Linked DNA regions of Homo sapiens: region 2 is linked to region 1. The links are contacts of gene promoters, found by promoter capture Hi-C in blood cells and fetal thymus (Javierre and others, 2016). All regions are on one chromosome and are shown on one strand. The core of a region is centred on a gene start or on the middle of the fragment in contact, and the rest is flanking DNA. Distances in the headings are between cores, read along the strand shown. Region 1 holds the start of ZNF692 (zinc finger protein 692). Region 2 holds the start of OR2T1 (olfactory receptor family 2 subfamily T member 1).

Region 1 (7,967 bases), core at 1-2,500:
GAGGACACAGCCTGAAGAAGTGTACCTGCCAGCAGGAGAAGAGGCAGGTCAGGACTCAGGTGGCCAGCCACCCTCAGCCCTGGGCACTCACACATGTAAGGGGCCAGCCCTAAGGGCCGCTATTCGCTGAGACCATGAGGAGGGGAGCAGGACCCTCGGAGGCCACAAGTCACACAGGCCGTCCTGGTAAAGTGAGAAACCTGAGGGTGGAAAAGAGCAGCAGGACAGGCCCTGGAGAGGAGGCTAGGGGCTGCTGCCTGGGTACCCTCCCCCAAGCCCTTCTCCCGGCCCCTAACCGGTCCAACAGGAACTTGGCGAGCTGCGAGTGCAGGGAGAAGCCCAGCCGCTCCTTGAGGAGGCACCACTGCTCCATGTGGCCGCCCAGGCGGATGCGGCACTTGCTGCGGCGCGCGTCCAGCTGCCGCCGCTTCTCCCGCCGCCTGCAGGACACGTCCACCGCCGGGGAGGAAGCCATGTGCACCAGAGGCTGGAGGGTGGAAGGGACGTCTTCAGCGCCCTGCCGATCTCGGGGGTCGGGGACCCGGCTCCACCTGCCGTTAGGGCCTCAGTTTCCTCATCAGTGAACTGGGGCAAGACTAAACTATTTCAATAGCAGTGGCAGGTGTGGAGCCAAACCCCGTCCTTCTATGATACAGGGTGTTGAAGCTCAGCGCTACCATGTGAGTGTCGTCGGGTGGGAGGCAGGCAGACAGAAGCAGTCAGAACAAAGGCCTGCGCCCTCCAGTCCACTGAAGTGGAGCTGTGGGGAAGGGGCGAGAGACTTTCACGGGAAATTTCAACTGGGCTGGGGGCGGTCCACACATTTCATCTTGAATAGGGCAGCGGCCTTTACTGGTTTCTAGGGGAAGGAAAGGTCGTGTCCTGGCGTGCAGCTGGGGGCGCTCTTCATAGTTGGGTCGAGTGGCGGTGAGGCCGTGGTCAGAGGTCTGGAGGGCGCCCCCCATCCACCCCGTCTTGGGCACCCCCACTTAATGCTGACAGTGAGTGGAGCGGACTAATCCCAATGGCAGTTCCCAGGCTGCCCAGAGCCCCCGTCGCGACCCACCCCCACCCCGGCCTTACCTGTGCGCCCCCACGCGCCCTCACCCCCACTGCGCCTGCGCCTGCGCCTCCCGGGCCTAGCGAGCAGGCCCGGAGCTGCTGGAAGACAGGGGCCCACCTCGCGCGCGCAGCGTTTCTCTTTTAAGAAGAAACGGTGCCTCTCGGCGTCGGCTGCTGTAGCCCGGAACTGAGGCCCGCGCCCCAGAGGGAGGGGCGAGTCGGAGGCCGACGCCGTGCGCCTGCGCACTGGGTGCCCCGCGCAACGCCCGCCGGGAATCGTGGTTGCCCGACTCAAGTCGCCCGCGCGTGTCGCGGAGCCCCGCGGCAGTTGTGGTTGGGTGGCTTCTGTGGTGAGCGTCTGCGCTTGGTGACCAAAGGTTTGAGGGAAAGTGGAAGAGACAGGGTCAGGCCTCCTGTGCTCCAACCCCAGCCCACCCGGCCTGTATGGGGACGTTGCCTCTTCACTTGTTCCCGTTTTGTATTCACCTTCGATTTCCCCCTCACAGTTGCCACCCGCAAACATGATGCAGAATCAGTCACTTTGAAAGACCCACAGAGGGTCCAGCTAGAGCCCTCTGTGGACCGCAGAGTCCCACCAGCTACAGCCCACTTCTATTACCATCAGAATTCCTCCTAAAAGTTGCCTGCATTCTCTGTGTACGCTCACTTCCCATCCTCTTCTCTTCAAATGGCTCTGATGGAGCTTTCCTCCCCACCCAGCCACTGCAGTGGCGCTTCACAAGGTCACTTGAGACGGTCATATTGCTACATAGCAGCTGTCAGTTCCGTCCGCCTCTCTGCCCTAGAAAGAGCGCGACTATGTAGCTCTCGTCCTCCTCATCTTTATGGCTCCCTCTACATTTTGGGCCCCAGTTTTACTTCTGTGACTTCATATGCTCCAGGTTTTCCACCCTCCTCACTGGCTCCTTCTATCCTTTTTTTGGATCCATTCCCTCTGTTCTGCCAAAAGATGAAGTGTGCCCTGGCTCAGGCCTTGAACCAGATCTTCTCTCGTCTGCATATGTTCTCCTGGGTGATCTAATTAGTTCCATGGCTTTAAATACACTGATGGCTCCTAGCCTAGCCCTCTTTCAACTCCAGTCATATATCTTACTGCCCGCTTGACTTACATGTGTTAACTGAGCTAACACGTGTAAAGAATGTAGGACAGTGCCTGGCATGTAGAGAGCGCTGACACATGATAGCTGATATTTTCTCCAACATAAATATGGCAAACATATAACAATAACGCCTGTACCCTCCCCCATGCCAGTAAACTATGTCATCATCCACCCACTTGTTCAGAAAAAAGGGAATCAGCCTTGATTCTTTGCCTTTTATGATACCTAAACCATATACATCAGCAAATCTTGTTGGTCCTGTCTCCAAAAATTTATCTTAAATCCAATCACTTCTGACCCTCTCAACTGCTAAAACCCTACTCCAAGCCACTGGTATTAATTTTCTGTAATTGTTGTAACAAATTGTGTTGTGTGTTGTTTTCAGCCACAAACTTGCTCCCTTTACTCAAATTTATTTTCTCACAGTTCTGGAGGCCAAGGCATCAGCAGGGCCACAGGCCATTGTAAGGGCTCTAGGGGAGAATCCTTTCCTTGCTTCTTCTAGCTTCTAATGGTGGCCAGCATTCTCTGACTTGTGGCCACGTCACTCCAATCTCTGTCTCTGAGGTCACATTGCCTCCTTCTGTGTCAAATCTCCCTCTGCTTCTCTCTTACAAGGATGCTTGTGAATGCATTTAGAGTCCATCCTTATAATCCAAATAATCTCTCCATCTCAGTATCCTAAGACAATTTCTTCTGTAAAGTATTTGCCATATAAAGTAATCGGCTGCACACGGTGGCTCACGCCTGTAATCCCAGCACTTTGGGAGGCCAAGGCGGGTGGATCACTTGAGGTCAGGAGTTTGAGATGTGCCTGCCCAACATGGTGAAACCCTGTCTCTACTAAAAATACAAAAAAAATTAGCTGGGCATGGTGGCATGGGCCTATAATCCCAGCTACTCGGGAGGCTGAGGCAGAAGAATTGCTTGAACCCAGGAGGAGGAGGTTGCAGTGAACCGAAATTGCACCACTGCACACCAGCCCGAGTGACAGAGCAAGACTCCATCTAAAATAAAATAAAGTAATCTCCACAAGTTTTGGGGATTAGGACACAGATATCTTTTCTGGGACTATTTTTAAGCCTACCATACCACTATCATCTCTCACCTGGTCTGTGGCTACATCTTCCTAATGGATCTGCCTCCTACTTTAACTTGTACTCTCACAAAGCAGGGAAAATTTCCTCAAAGATCAAATCTTTTGCTTAAAATCTGTGAGTGGTGCAATCCAAAATCCTTATCATGGCCTCAAGGACCTACTTAATTGGGCCCTTGGCTTCTTCTCTGGCATCATCCCCCAACTTTTCCCACTTTGTCCTCCCACCTTTTTGCTATTTCTCAAGTGTGCCAAGTATCCTAGAGGGAGTTCTTTTGTCTCTGGAGCACTCAATTCTCCCCTCAGCCCCCACCCCATCCCCCAGCCCACCACCCAGCTGTTCATCTGTTTGCTCCCTTCTCATCTTGTAAATCTCGGCTATAAGATCACCCACTCAGCTATAAAATCCCTCATTCAGAAAGCTCCCTTTCCTCAGTCATGCTCTACCTCACTGTGCCCTATTGTATCTTCTTCATGGCACTTACTTTCTGAAATCATCTCAGGGACTTGTTTGTGTGTTTGTTATTGGTATACGATGATTGTTGACTAGCCCAGCCTTCTCCTCTGCAGCCTAAATATCTCAAATGACATGGTGTGCAAACATGAACACCCTTAGGATGAGCCCAGTGTGTCCTGTGCATATTCCTTTTGATTTGTGGTATCAGTGACTCAACATACTTGTCTGACTAGTGTAAGGTAGGAAGGAAGATGTCCCAGCTACTTTACTCATTAATGAATGTGTAACTTTTCCAGCTACTTTACTCATTAATGAAAGTGTAACTTTCACATCAAAAGAGCAGGACTCCATCGAGAACAAACTTTATCCTTTCCTCATGGTCCCTTAATAGATATCTGCAAAATCCTTGTGGTTTCATCCAAGGGAATGAAAGGTCTTGTAATTCTTGGTTACTCTTAGAATGTTGGGTCTCACTTTGAGACCCAAGAACATTTTTGGTTCTCTTGGTTTGATCTTGTTTAAAATAATAAAATGAAATTACTGCCAATGCCCAGCTCTTCAATAACCGTCTCCAAATAAATCTCTCAGCCTCTCTTTAATTTCTTATATCATCTAGGTAAGGAATGAGCCAACTCTCTCAAAAACAGTCACCAGCCCCTTCCTTTGTAAGTGCTGCAAGGGAGTGCTAACATTTTAAGGAGGGGTTCTCTGTAAACATTGGTTCTCTGCCTTTAGTGACCTCATTGCAGTCTGAGACCTTGAATTCCATCTTAGCATCCCATTACAAAGGCTAAGATTAAATGTGAGCTATTTGTATTTTTGTCACTGTTGAGCTTTACAGTTTACAGACTGCTGAAACTGCCAATTCTTTTATACACATAAAAGGGTCCATGTGGAGGACATATTTATCTTCATAACATTTATTTTTCCTGGACTATGCATGGCACCATAGCGCTCTTCTTATCTCCTGCTTTGGCACAGCCAAATCTAATATTGCTGTACCCTCTGAACTTTTAGTATCTTCTCTCCAAAGAGAAAAACTACTTTCCACTCTCCAGATCCAAGGAGGAATGAGCCAAATTGCTACAGAAGTTGAGTCAACCCACTGCCCTCAAATCCTGAGATGTATTCCCAGTGGGAAAAGGAACACTCCTTCAGGACTTTGTACCCCAAATTCCACGAGACCCACAGACACCCTCAGCCCAGCCCAGCTCCAGGTATTTGCATGAACCTCCCTCTTTCTCAGCCCTCATCCTCTCAGTGACTGGTGTCTTCATCCTCCAACTAGTCATCATTGCTGGGAGTGCAATTCCGTTTCCCCTGAGCCCCTGACAACTGAAGGGTGGTGCCTCTACCCTGAGTCTGATCATGCCCTAGTGCGGCTGACCTGGGCGCTCTGTGATGCCATGTGGCCCAGGTAGGGTGGGGTGGTATACAAGAGATGCGGTTGCCCTTGCTCCTGGCTGGCCCAGCTGCCTGGGTTGGTCCTGTTAGCTTTGGCTCCGGGCCGGAGGGCAGACGACATGAAGGAGGAGGAAGCCAGCCGCCAAGAGACTCGCCGTGGTAAATTCAGCGTCTGCAGGGGTGCTTGACGCGGCGGAGCCCGCGACGCCGGCAGCGGAGCGACATGTTGCTCCTGGTGCTGAAGCAGCAGCTGCCCACCCTCGCTGTGGTTGTGCTGATGGCAGCAGCAGCCCGTCTAGGGTGGCCACTGCCGTGATGCTGGCTGCAGCGCTCCATGAAGCGAGTGGAGCCAGGAACAGGCAGAAGCCCCGCCCCCTCCTGAGTTGATAGGGTGGGACCTTCGCGCTCACGGGTGCAGCCTCTGCCGCCCGGCTGTGGCTGCCGACCAAGGCCTCCCTGTGCTCTTGGGGGCCAGGAGCAGCCAGGAGCCCGCCCTCCCAGGCACAGCTACTGCGGCTCAAGCTGTGGCTGCAGACCCAGGCATCTCTTCACTCTCCAGGGGCTGGGAAGGACCCCGCTGCCCGCGGAGGCTCAGAAATGCCTGGTTCTGCTGCCTGGTCTCTCCCCGCTCCTGGTGCCTGCTCCACGGGCTCTGAAATGTCTGCTCCCAGTGCCTGGCTGCTCCCTGCTCCCAGTGCCCACTCTCATCTCAGAGCAAAGTTGAGGCCAAGGCCGGCGCTACTGCAACCCGGCCGGGTGTGCGCACACTCGGGCAGCGCTGACATGCCAGCCCCCTGCTGCCTCGGCCCCCTCTGGACTTTGGGCGCCAATGAGCACAGGAGGGAGGCCGAGGTGAGGGCTGAGGGCAGACCAGCACTGACCTGCAGGTGCCCCTCAGCATGAACAGCCTGGGTGCTATAATGTTGTTCCTTCTGTTTTACTTCTAACTGCCCCTTCCTCCTGCTCGCCTCTGACTCTCTCATTGCATAATTTTGCCCCCTCTTTCTCTCCTTCATCTTCTCCCCTTTTCCTTGCCTCATCTCATTTCCTCCTTCTGTACCTAAAAAGTTTGGCATTTGGGCTAAAAAATGAAACAACCATTTCTCTTCAGCCATCTTCCAGCATTAAGCTTCTAATACAGAAGAGTTGGTGAGCCACCAACAATTTGAAGACATTTCTTCTAGTTCTATTCCTGTTGCATTCCCCTCCTGTTTAGTCCACTCACCAGACTATTTTTGAGTTGTGCCCTAGCTCTCTCTCCATGCTTCCACCCACCAGGACCTGGTAGATCTTACCCTCCTCACACTGCTCATTCAGCTGGTTAGAAATGAAGCCTCCCACCAGTCAGAACTGGGAAACATGGTGGGAACTAAAGAATTCTCTGTCTCCCCTTTCCTCATTGTTAGTCTTCAGTTCACTCTCTCCAGGAGCACCTAAAACAGCTTGTGACTAAACATCCCATTTGGAGCCCTGAGCAGAGACTGTGATCCACTAGATTAGGGCCTTGGGCTTCAAGCCTATACTTATTTCTAGCCTTTGGCCTATATTTAGACTTTCTGGGTACTCATGCAGAGGCTAACCACACCATGCTTTTTCCCCTAGGACAGACCATAATGAAAGATGCTTTACCTTGAAAACTAAATGGACAGGACTTGATCACAAAGCATCACCTCTCCCCTGGACTCCAGAGGATCGTTCCTAACTGCTTACTTGACACATCTATTAGGTATCTCAAACTGGAAGGTCTAAAACTGAACTCTCCCTCCTCCATAATCTGCCTCCCCTTAGCCTTCCCTTTGTCAGTAAATGATGAGTTTTTTCCTTCTATTGCTCAGGTCAAAAAATCCTTTTTGTGGCTCATTTACTTCTTGCACATCAACAAATCCTATTAACTCTACCTGCAAAATATACCCAGAATTCAAATCTTGCTTGCCACGCGGCCTGTTGCCATCCAGTCCACCAACGTGGCTTGCAGCACCTCTCAACTGTTCTCTCTGCCTTACTCTTGTGTTCTATATTCTACCCTCCACACGCAGCCAGAGGATCCTTTTTGTTTTTCTTTCTTGAGACAGTATCTTGTTCCATCACTGAGGCTGGAATGCAGTGGCACGATCACAGCTCACTGCATCCTTGAAGTCCTAGCTCAAGCAATCCTCCCATCTCAACCCCCAAGTAGCTAAGACGACAGGTGCATGCCAACATGCCCAGCAAATTCTTTAAATCTTTTGTAGAGATGGTCTCCCACTATGTTGTCCAGGCTGGTCTCAAACTCCTGGCACAAGTGATCCTCCCTCCTTGAGCTCCCAAAGATTTGGGATTACAGGCATGAGTTGGGATTACAGGCATGAGCCACCATAACCAGCCAAGGGGATCCTTGAAAAGCAGGAAAGATCTTATCACACAGCTCAAAACCTTCCTTTTCACTCACTGTCAATCCAAAGGCTAGCACCAGGTCCTCTCACTCAGTTTCAACCATACTGTCTGTTTTGCATTTCTTGTTGGCCTTTTCTTCTGCTCTTCTCTTTCCCTGGAGCCCTCTTCCCTCAGATATTTTATCTAGTCACTCCTTGACTCTCTTGAAATTTCTGCTCAAATGCCACATACTGAGAGACCTTCTGAACCACTTGCATCTCTCCCTAACCTCTTTCTATGCGTTATTTTTCTCAACAGTATGTATCACTACCCATCCCCACCAAATAATTATTTTATTTAGTCTAGGTGTTTCTGCTGGAATGTGAGCATCTTGAGGACAGATAATTTGTTTTATTCTCTGCAGCATCCCTGGTCCATGGGGCTCAGCTAGAGCAAGGGACTTTTCTGGGCAAGG
Region 2 (7,967 bases), core at 4,826-7,325, 460 kb before region 1:
AAAAAGACCCATGTACTTATATATTCAACACCATGCTATTCACAATAGCAAGACATGGAATCAACCTAGTTGCCCATCAATGGTAGATTGGATAAAGAAAATGTGGCAAAAAAAAAAAAAAAAAAGAAAATGTGGCACATATACACCACGAAATACTATGAAGCCATTAAAAAAGTATGAAATCCTGTCCTTTGCAGCAATATGGATAGAGCCAGAAGCCATCATCCCACGTGAATTACCACAGGAACAGAAAGCCAAATACTGGATGTTCCTACTCACAGATGGGAGCTAAACATTGAACACCTGGCCACAAAGATGGCAACCATTACATCCTAGAGGTGGGAGGAAGGGAGGGGGTAGGTGTTGAAAAACTGCTGGGTACCATGCTCACTACTTGAGTGATGGGATCATTTATAATCCAAACCTCAGCATCACACAATACACTCAGGCACATGTACGCCATGAATCTCAAATAAAGTGGAATGAATAAATAAATAAATAAAATGATTTTTTCAAAAGAAGTTAAATAAATGAATAGTAAAAATATAAAAGTTGGCCGAGTGCAGTGGTGCATGCCTGTAATTCCCACACTTTGGGAGGCCAAGGCATATGGATCACCTGAGGTCAGGAGCTCGAGGCCAGCCTGTCCAACATGGTGAAACCCCATCACTACTGAAAATACAAGATTAGCCAGGCGTGGTGGTGTATGCCTGTAGTCCCAGCTACTCGGGAGGCTGAGACAGGAAAATCACTTGAACCCTGGAGGTGGAGGCTGCAGTGAGCCAAGATCATGCCACTGCACTCCAGCCTGGGCAAGACAGAGTGAGACTCTTGTCTCAAAAAAAAAAAAAAAAAAAGTTGAAGTTAAAAAAATTAATTAACCTTTCTAGGAAAAACAACAGAAAACATTAAATCTAGTCCTTTTACATCAGAATTTCCAGATCTGTGTGTTTGTGTTTATTTATTTATAGATAGATGAAATGATTGATATATAGATGTGAATTGATAATATAAAAAATGATAATATTTTTGAGGTGCAACTTAACAAAATCAAAACTTTAAAAATATTCACACAAATGAATTAAATAATATTGACTGAGGAAAAGTCGATGAAGAAAACTTCCAAAATCTATACTCAAATTAGACATAAGGATTTAATCAGCACATTATTTTTTAGTCCCCTGAATTAAAACTGTATGTATGTTATAAAAATGGAGCATTAATTAAATAATATTGAGCATATCCATAAAGTATAGTACTTTGTGGATAGTGCATGCTACGTTTGGGAGAATATTTCACATCGGGGCACTTTTTATGTTGTATTTTGTGAACAATGCAAATTGTGGAATTACATGTTAACCCACAGACACTCATCACACACACATATATGTTGTTGTGTAAATGCCATATCTATTTATAGTGTTTAAGTTTCTGCATGTGTCTCTCTGTTGGTTCTCTACCTCTTGTTTAGTTACATAAAGCTCTTGTAGTTTACTGGTACATACACACACATACCCACGAACATACACACAAACAAACACATACAGTATAAATGCAATTTTGTAAGGATAATCATCTCTATGATGTGTTTTCGATAACCCTATCTGGTATTATGTTTTTCCCGATGGGTATGCGTTACCTTTATGCTCAAATAAAATAATAATTATTAAACTACCAACAAACATAACAGATGTTATGTTATTAAAATATAATAGAAATAAAGCTACTTTTTATCTTTTTAATGGCTTTCCACATTTGTTCCCACATTTCTCTGTGAGGAAGAGCTGCTGGCAGAACTTTCTGATGAAACACTCAGGAAATCAGTTTTACACTTTGAAGCACAGGAGTTGAAACATGTTCTCAAAGCCCATGTCACTTAAATGTTCACTGTTTTCCACCCCATCAATACACTTCTCATTAGCTGTAATAAGTCCGTCTCATTAAAGTCTCCTGAGATCCAAAAGGAAGAAACTTGCTCTTTCCCAGAGCACTTCATTCCATGTCCCTCAAAGAAAACTATTTAAACTCATGCCTCTTTTCAATCTGGGCGCTCCCTTGTCGCTCCAGGGATCTCAAAAGCAGAACACCCAGAATAATTCGGCACTCTTTACTGGTCTGCTGCTTTCTTCCTGCATTTTTAGTTTTTCAGACCTGTTTAGTTGCTAAATATTTCCCTGTAAAGATAAGAAATAGACATTATTACATGTTTCTAGAAGGCTGGAGAATTTATGCAATTTGTCCTGGCAATGCAAATTGTTTCAAGGATTTCTAAGGTGGCATTTATTTGTTTGGCTTAATAATACTTCCTTCTGCAGAGTTATATTACAAAAATAGCTCCTAATAAACTTGTTGCATGTCTCTCTTTGTCCTAACTCCATCATCAGTTGCTAAGGATACCTTCAGTCATGCCAAGTTCATAAATCCAAATTAGAAATCTATGCATACTGGATCTTCAGGGTAACATGCTGACAGCACTTTGGCATCCAGATGGCCTAGATGTTGAAGGATTTCCTGTTGTGGGTACCAATGACTATGAATTGCTTTGTGTGTTTTCTTCTTGGTATAAGTTAGATGAGAATTTAAGTCTACTAAATCTAATCATTTTTCCTTCTAGCAAAATATCACCTTCAACCTTCTAAAAAGTCTTAGTTCTTCATCGCTTGTTTAGTTACATAAAGTTGTTGTAGTTTGCCAGTAAGTTTTTGATTTACTAAATTATACATAACCTTCTCTATCTACTACTCTGAATGGCTATCCTGACAGATTCAGCTCTCTGTAAGTGACAGATAATCATCTTTTGTTGGAATACAGTTTGGAATAAAATTAGATATTTGGATAATTTTTATGAAAATTATGTATATTGTATTCCTTGATGTCTACTTAGTGATGTGTGTCACATGCTGTTTTGAGTGGGTGGCATTCAGATTGCATGGATGAGAGGAGATATGAGAAATGTGAGAACATATAGAACACATGAATACATTACTTTATGAAGCTCTTTGAAAATTAAATAATTGGATTTAATAGTTAAGGTTTTGTCTAAATGATGCAACATCCCTCAGTAAAATTAGGCAATTAAAATGGATCATCTAGGAGCTTCTGCTGTACTTAGACTCACTTTGTTTGTTCCACTCTTCCTATTCCCTTAATGAAAATCCAGGTCTTTTGGAATTATGCAGGAATTTCACAGGTAAGAAGTCAAATGCTGATGAGCACCTAGACTGACTCCTCCTCATAGTAGCACTTTAAATATTTGGTGCATATGCAAATGACCGGGTTGCCAGAACATTTCATTGTGGTCTGACTGAATTTACGTTCTTTATATGACATAAACAAGATTTACGTAAACTGGATCTAAGAAAGTTGAGGCAGAGTTGTCTGCAACTCCTGGGCTGGAAATCTCAGGCACAAGTATAATGAGGAATGACTGTCCCATTCCCTCCATGCCAAATGCAAGTGCATTGAGAAAAAGAGTGCCTGTCTGATTATCTGTGGGAATTACATGGAGTGAGTGTTGTAAATCTCAGGTAGAAGGATGCCATTGAGTGTAACAGTGCAAAGAATCTTTTCTTAAATGTTTGCTGCTTTTCTTAAAAAAATAATTTAAGCAAACTTTAGTCTTATGAATTAGATAGGATAAGGACAATACTGTTCGAAAGGCACAAAAGATCTAAAGGAAAAACCTGTACTTACTCCTAGTTTCTAAAGTACAGACTATGAACCAGGCTTCCTGAATCTCTGAACAGTGCATTGTCTTTATCTCCTTCCCCTCGTTTTACAGATAAGAACACTGATGATTGGAGAGTTGAAGATGCTTGCATTAAAGACACAGAGCTGACGTAAGGCAGACTCCTACAGGCATTCTAATTTCCAACATAGACTCGTTGCCTGACTGTCAAACGTGCAAGCATTTTAAAAATCCTTTTTTCCACAATGATTTCAAAGAATGTGCAGACACCTGGATTTCTCAGATCCACTTTGCCAGTGATTCACAGGCATTTTTTTAGTGTCCATCACACCAAGCATAAAATAAACTCTCATCAGAAATAACAGGTCTCTCTAGTAGAGGGGTTTATTCTAGTGTGTAGTCTCTTTATGGGTCTTGTAGGAGGTGTGTGTGGGTTGAAGAATGTGGTTCTAAGTTACTCTAAAATTGTCAGAGTACATTAGTGCTTTATTATCTAATAATTGTATGATTATTATTTCAATATGAGTTCATTCTTAATGATTCCAACTTTTTGAAATACTAAACAGAATTTAGGAACACGGAGAAAAACTAGGAACATATATTTTTGTATTTAGTCTCAAAATTGCACAGCACTGTATTGACCTGTCTTGAGAACTTCTCATGTGAAAAGGTAACTGTAAGTTTGAATGTGTATGTAATGACTCAATGTGTCTGCGATAACAACAGAAAAGTAATATTGCCAGTGTATTCTGTACAGGAAAAACCACACCTACAGTAATCTGTTGAAATTGAGGTATTATATTCTAAAATAGACATTGCAAAAGCTATCCCCAGTAAATACCTGGAAGTTGAGCACTTTGGAAAAAAATTCATACATGAATGCATAAAATAACTGGAGAAGTGTGACCGGTATAGAGAAGGAGGACAGAAAACCTTGTAGTCATATTCACATTATGAAATGTTGAATGTTGCAAAGAGAGAAAACTGGTTCCAAGCAGATTCAGAAGGCAAGGAAGAATCCTGCATGAAGCAGCTTTAATTTAAGCTAATGCAGAGCTTCCTAACAAGGCTGCTGCATTGAAGGAGCATGGAGCTTGCTCTTTTCTTTGGCAGAAACTTCACCAGTGGTCATAGGGAAGCAAGCAAAGGCTGCAACTTACAAGTTAGGAATTATCTTGTCACTTGATTTAAAGGATGGGCTTGGAGATCATCACAGTCCTGGGCAAGCATTGTGTCCTACCTTCAAACTGTAGTGATGTGGGAGGAAAATATTTGCGGCCATCCCTACTCAACCAACATGCACGCCTTATAAAATAGTACAGAATATTTACAAATGTCAGGATAACATAAATGCATTGATTTATCTCTTGGTGTACGGTATTATGCAATAAAAAATAGTTTAGGTAGGCCTAAAAGACAATTTTATCCAATAAAATTATGTCTATTTTATCCACTAACTTTTTAAAAATAATTTTCTCAAAATTTGCAGGCCAAGCATACTTCTGCTCTTCAAAGGCATTTAGATGTTCTGCAAGCTTAATTGAAATGCACAGTTTTTTCTGAGAATTTCTACTAAGTAACAATCCTTTCAAGTCAAAGGATACTTGGGGGAAAAGATAGACTTTAACTGCTGATGTAACTTCACTGGGAGCACCTGGGTTTACAGACCTTTTCTGAAGATCAGGAGGTATTTGCAATTTAAATTCATAGATTTTAGTTGAATATGTAGATTGCTTAAATGAGAGATTGAGAATTTGCACCCATTTACCAATAGTTTTGAAATAATTTGCAGATATCTTACATTTTACTTGGTATTGTATAAAATATTTGCACCTGTAACTATAAATTTCTTATTTGATTCTTAAAGTAACCCTGAATGTTTATTATATCAATTAATATAAGCAGATACTGAGGCTCAGGGTGTTTAGGAAGATAATCCAAGGTCACAGAATTAATTAATGTCGTGACCAGAGGAAGAACTCAATTCATTTAATTCTAAATTTTGTTTTACTGTATGTTGCCTTCATCATTTCAGAAACAAATGCCTATATAAAGTCACAGAATCATTCCAAACATTTTCTGATTATTTTTATGTGTACTAAACCATAGCAAAGCTGTATGATCTATGCCCAGGAGATATTCAACAAGTATAGTTACTTATTGTGCTCACTCTAGTGAGAGAGCAGATAATAAATTTAACAAAACATTTTACTTAAAATCATAATTTACTTTGAGGAGGGCTTGTTCTCTGATAAATTAGATCTTTTGTATGCAGATAGGAAAAGTAAGGCCACTTGGCTGCAAAATGGAGTAGACTTTAGAATTTCCCTTTGCATTGCTAGGTTTGCAGGGCTAGCTGGCCATAGAAAAAGCTAGAACCACAGAAGAGTTACATATATACATATATAAATCTATGGGAGGAAATTATGAATGTATATACTTATATATATATATATAATGGATAAAAGATCATCCTTTATATTCTTGAAGTTTGTTGTGGATTTTACTGTAACCTGAAATTGTATAAAACAGTCCCTCAGTTTTTCTTAATTGCCAGAGCTACGGAAAAATTCCAATTTCCAAAAATCATCGGTGAGTTATACCTCAATATGTATGTCCCTGTGCTATTACATATACGTGTGTGTGTGTGTGTATAAAATGGGAGTAAGGGTGAACAGACAGCAGAGACCACTGTTTGACTTTGTGAAGCAGCACATGATTTTCCCTCTGTTTCTGGTGTCTTATCGCATGATAAAAGTCAAACCGAAAATGTAGGAAGTGTGGAAGTAGCTGAAATACTGCTAATATTTAGGCTGCGACATAAACTGGAGAGGAGTTTCCCTTTAGAAATATATTTTTATAGGTTCCATTAATGAAACCTAAAAAAAGTAAAATGAGGGAGGTTGTAAGTAATGATGACATTGTACATAGTATCATAAAAATGTATAAAACCTGACACCAAATATTCTGAATTAGCAAAATATACATTATATATATATATAAAATATACATATGATGTATCTATGTGTACATTTTTATATATGTGTGTATATCTGTACACATAGTTTATATCCATAAAACAGCAATCCTGATTATAATAATTTATGTGATCTACTCTCAAGTATGACTAATTTTCATTAGTCACATTAGTTATTACATTGTTAACAATTTAGCAGGTTCACATGCTTGGTACATTTTATTTGCTAATTACAGTAAATGTCTAGCTGCTATTCCCATATAAAGCTTCCTATATACACAATGCCATGTGTATGAATATATAATGAATTGAGACTATCTAGTCCAAACACTCCTGGCACTAACAGACCCCGTGACCACCAACACGTTACCCTCAATGCTGTCATTGGTGAGAGGGGCTTTTATAGCTCCTCACTTCTTAGTTTTATTGTGAAGATCAGGGAGTCAATAGTTACAAAGTACTTCTTAGCATGACACTTTGCAAAATAAACTCCACGATGTCATCATCATTATTCTCAATAGCAACTTCTTTTTCTGGGCAATTGACTCAAATGCTAATATTTTTAGAATATTTAGAGGAGCACTAGACTAGTTTGATCAATTTTACTCCCAAATATGTTGGTAAAATGTCTTTCTTGGGACACTTTTAGCCTTAAACAATGTGAAAAATCATCCTTTACTTCCATGAAGTTTGTTGTGGATATTTGTTTCTTTATTGTAACCTGAAATTGTATAAAACACACTCAGTTTTTCTTAATTATGAAGAACTATGAAAAATTCTAATTTCCAAAAATAATCAGTGAATTATAGCTCAATGTTTACGTCCCTGTGGTATTTCCTCTGAATATTAATTGCTAATACTGATTTCTAATGGTCATGCTAATCATAATCCTAATGCTAATTCCTCATCATCTTAAAATTGAAAATAAATAAAATTCTACAACACTGAATGCCTCTTGTATTGAGAATAATTTTTATGTCTAAATTTGCAAGAGTAGTTTCCGTTGAGTTTCTGTTGCCCTTTTTATTTCATCCCTTATAATTTGTCTGGGACATGGATAAACTAACACCAAGTATACTCTCATGATGTAGACAGTGACTTGTGACCCAAATGGTAGATAACCCGTACTTGTAGCTAAATGGAAGACATGAGCTACTCACAGCCAGCACCAAAGATGTTTTGAAAGTAGTGGTGATGCCAACCATACAAAGACACATTAAATAATAATACAAATTTAAATGCATCTAAGGTAATACACACACGCATACACCGGACCATGGTATGCGTAACTGCTGTGTAGCA

What was found. Contacts are between HindIII fragments. The CHiCAGO score rates a contact against its expected background, and 5 or more counts as called.
Region 2: a fragment that was not itself captured here is called in contact with the fragment with the promoter of ZNF692 in region 1 in 7 of 17 cell types (neutrophils, total CD4 T cells, naive CD8 T cells and 4 more); the score reaches 12.6 in neutrophils.

What each region holds. Positions count from the first base shown.
Region 1 is chr1:248,857,835-248,865,801 of GRCh38, forward strand. ZNF692 (zinc finger protein 692) reads right to left here and starts at 1,251. Exons shown (of 12, transcript NM_017865.4): 1 at 1,084-1,251; 2 at 297-487; 3 at 1-25. The coding sequence starts at 475. It overlaps ZNF692-DT (ZNF692 divergent transcript), which reads left to right and starts at 1,330. Exons shown (of 3, transcript NR_186117.1): 1 at 1,330-1,412; 2 at 4,795-4,953; 3 at 6,743-6,962. RefSeq lists enhancers at 56-135, 736-785, 1,586-1,735, 5,067-5,326, 5,797-5,936 and a silencer at 946-1,445. The HindIII fragment of the contact is 15,686 bases long and covers 1-6,267 here.
Region 2 is chr1:248,397,871-248,405,837 of GRCh38, forward strand. OR2T1 (olfactory receptor family 2 subfamily T member 1) reads left to right here and starts at 5,178. Exons shown (of 2, transcript NM_030904.2): 1 at 5,178-5,375. RefSeq lists a silencer at 2,384-2,584. The HindIII fragment of the contact is 1,708 bases long and covers 5,222-6,929 here.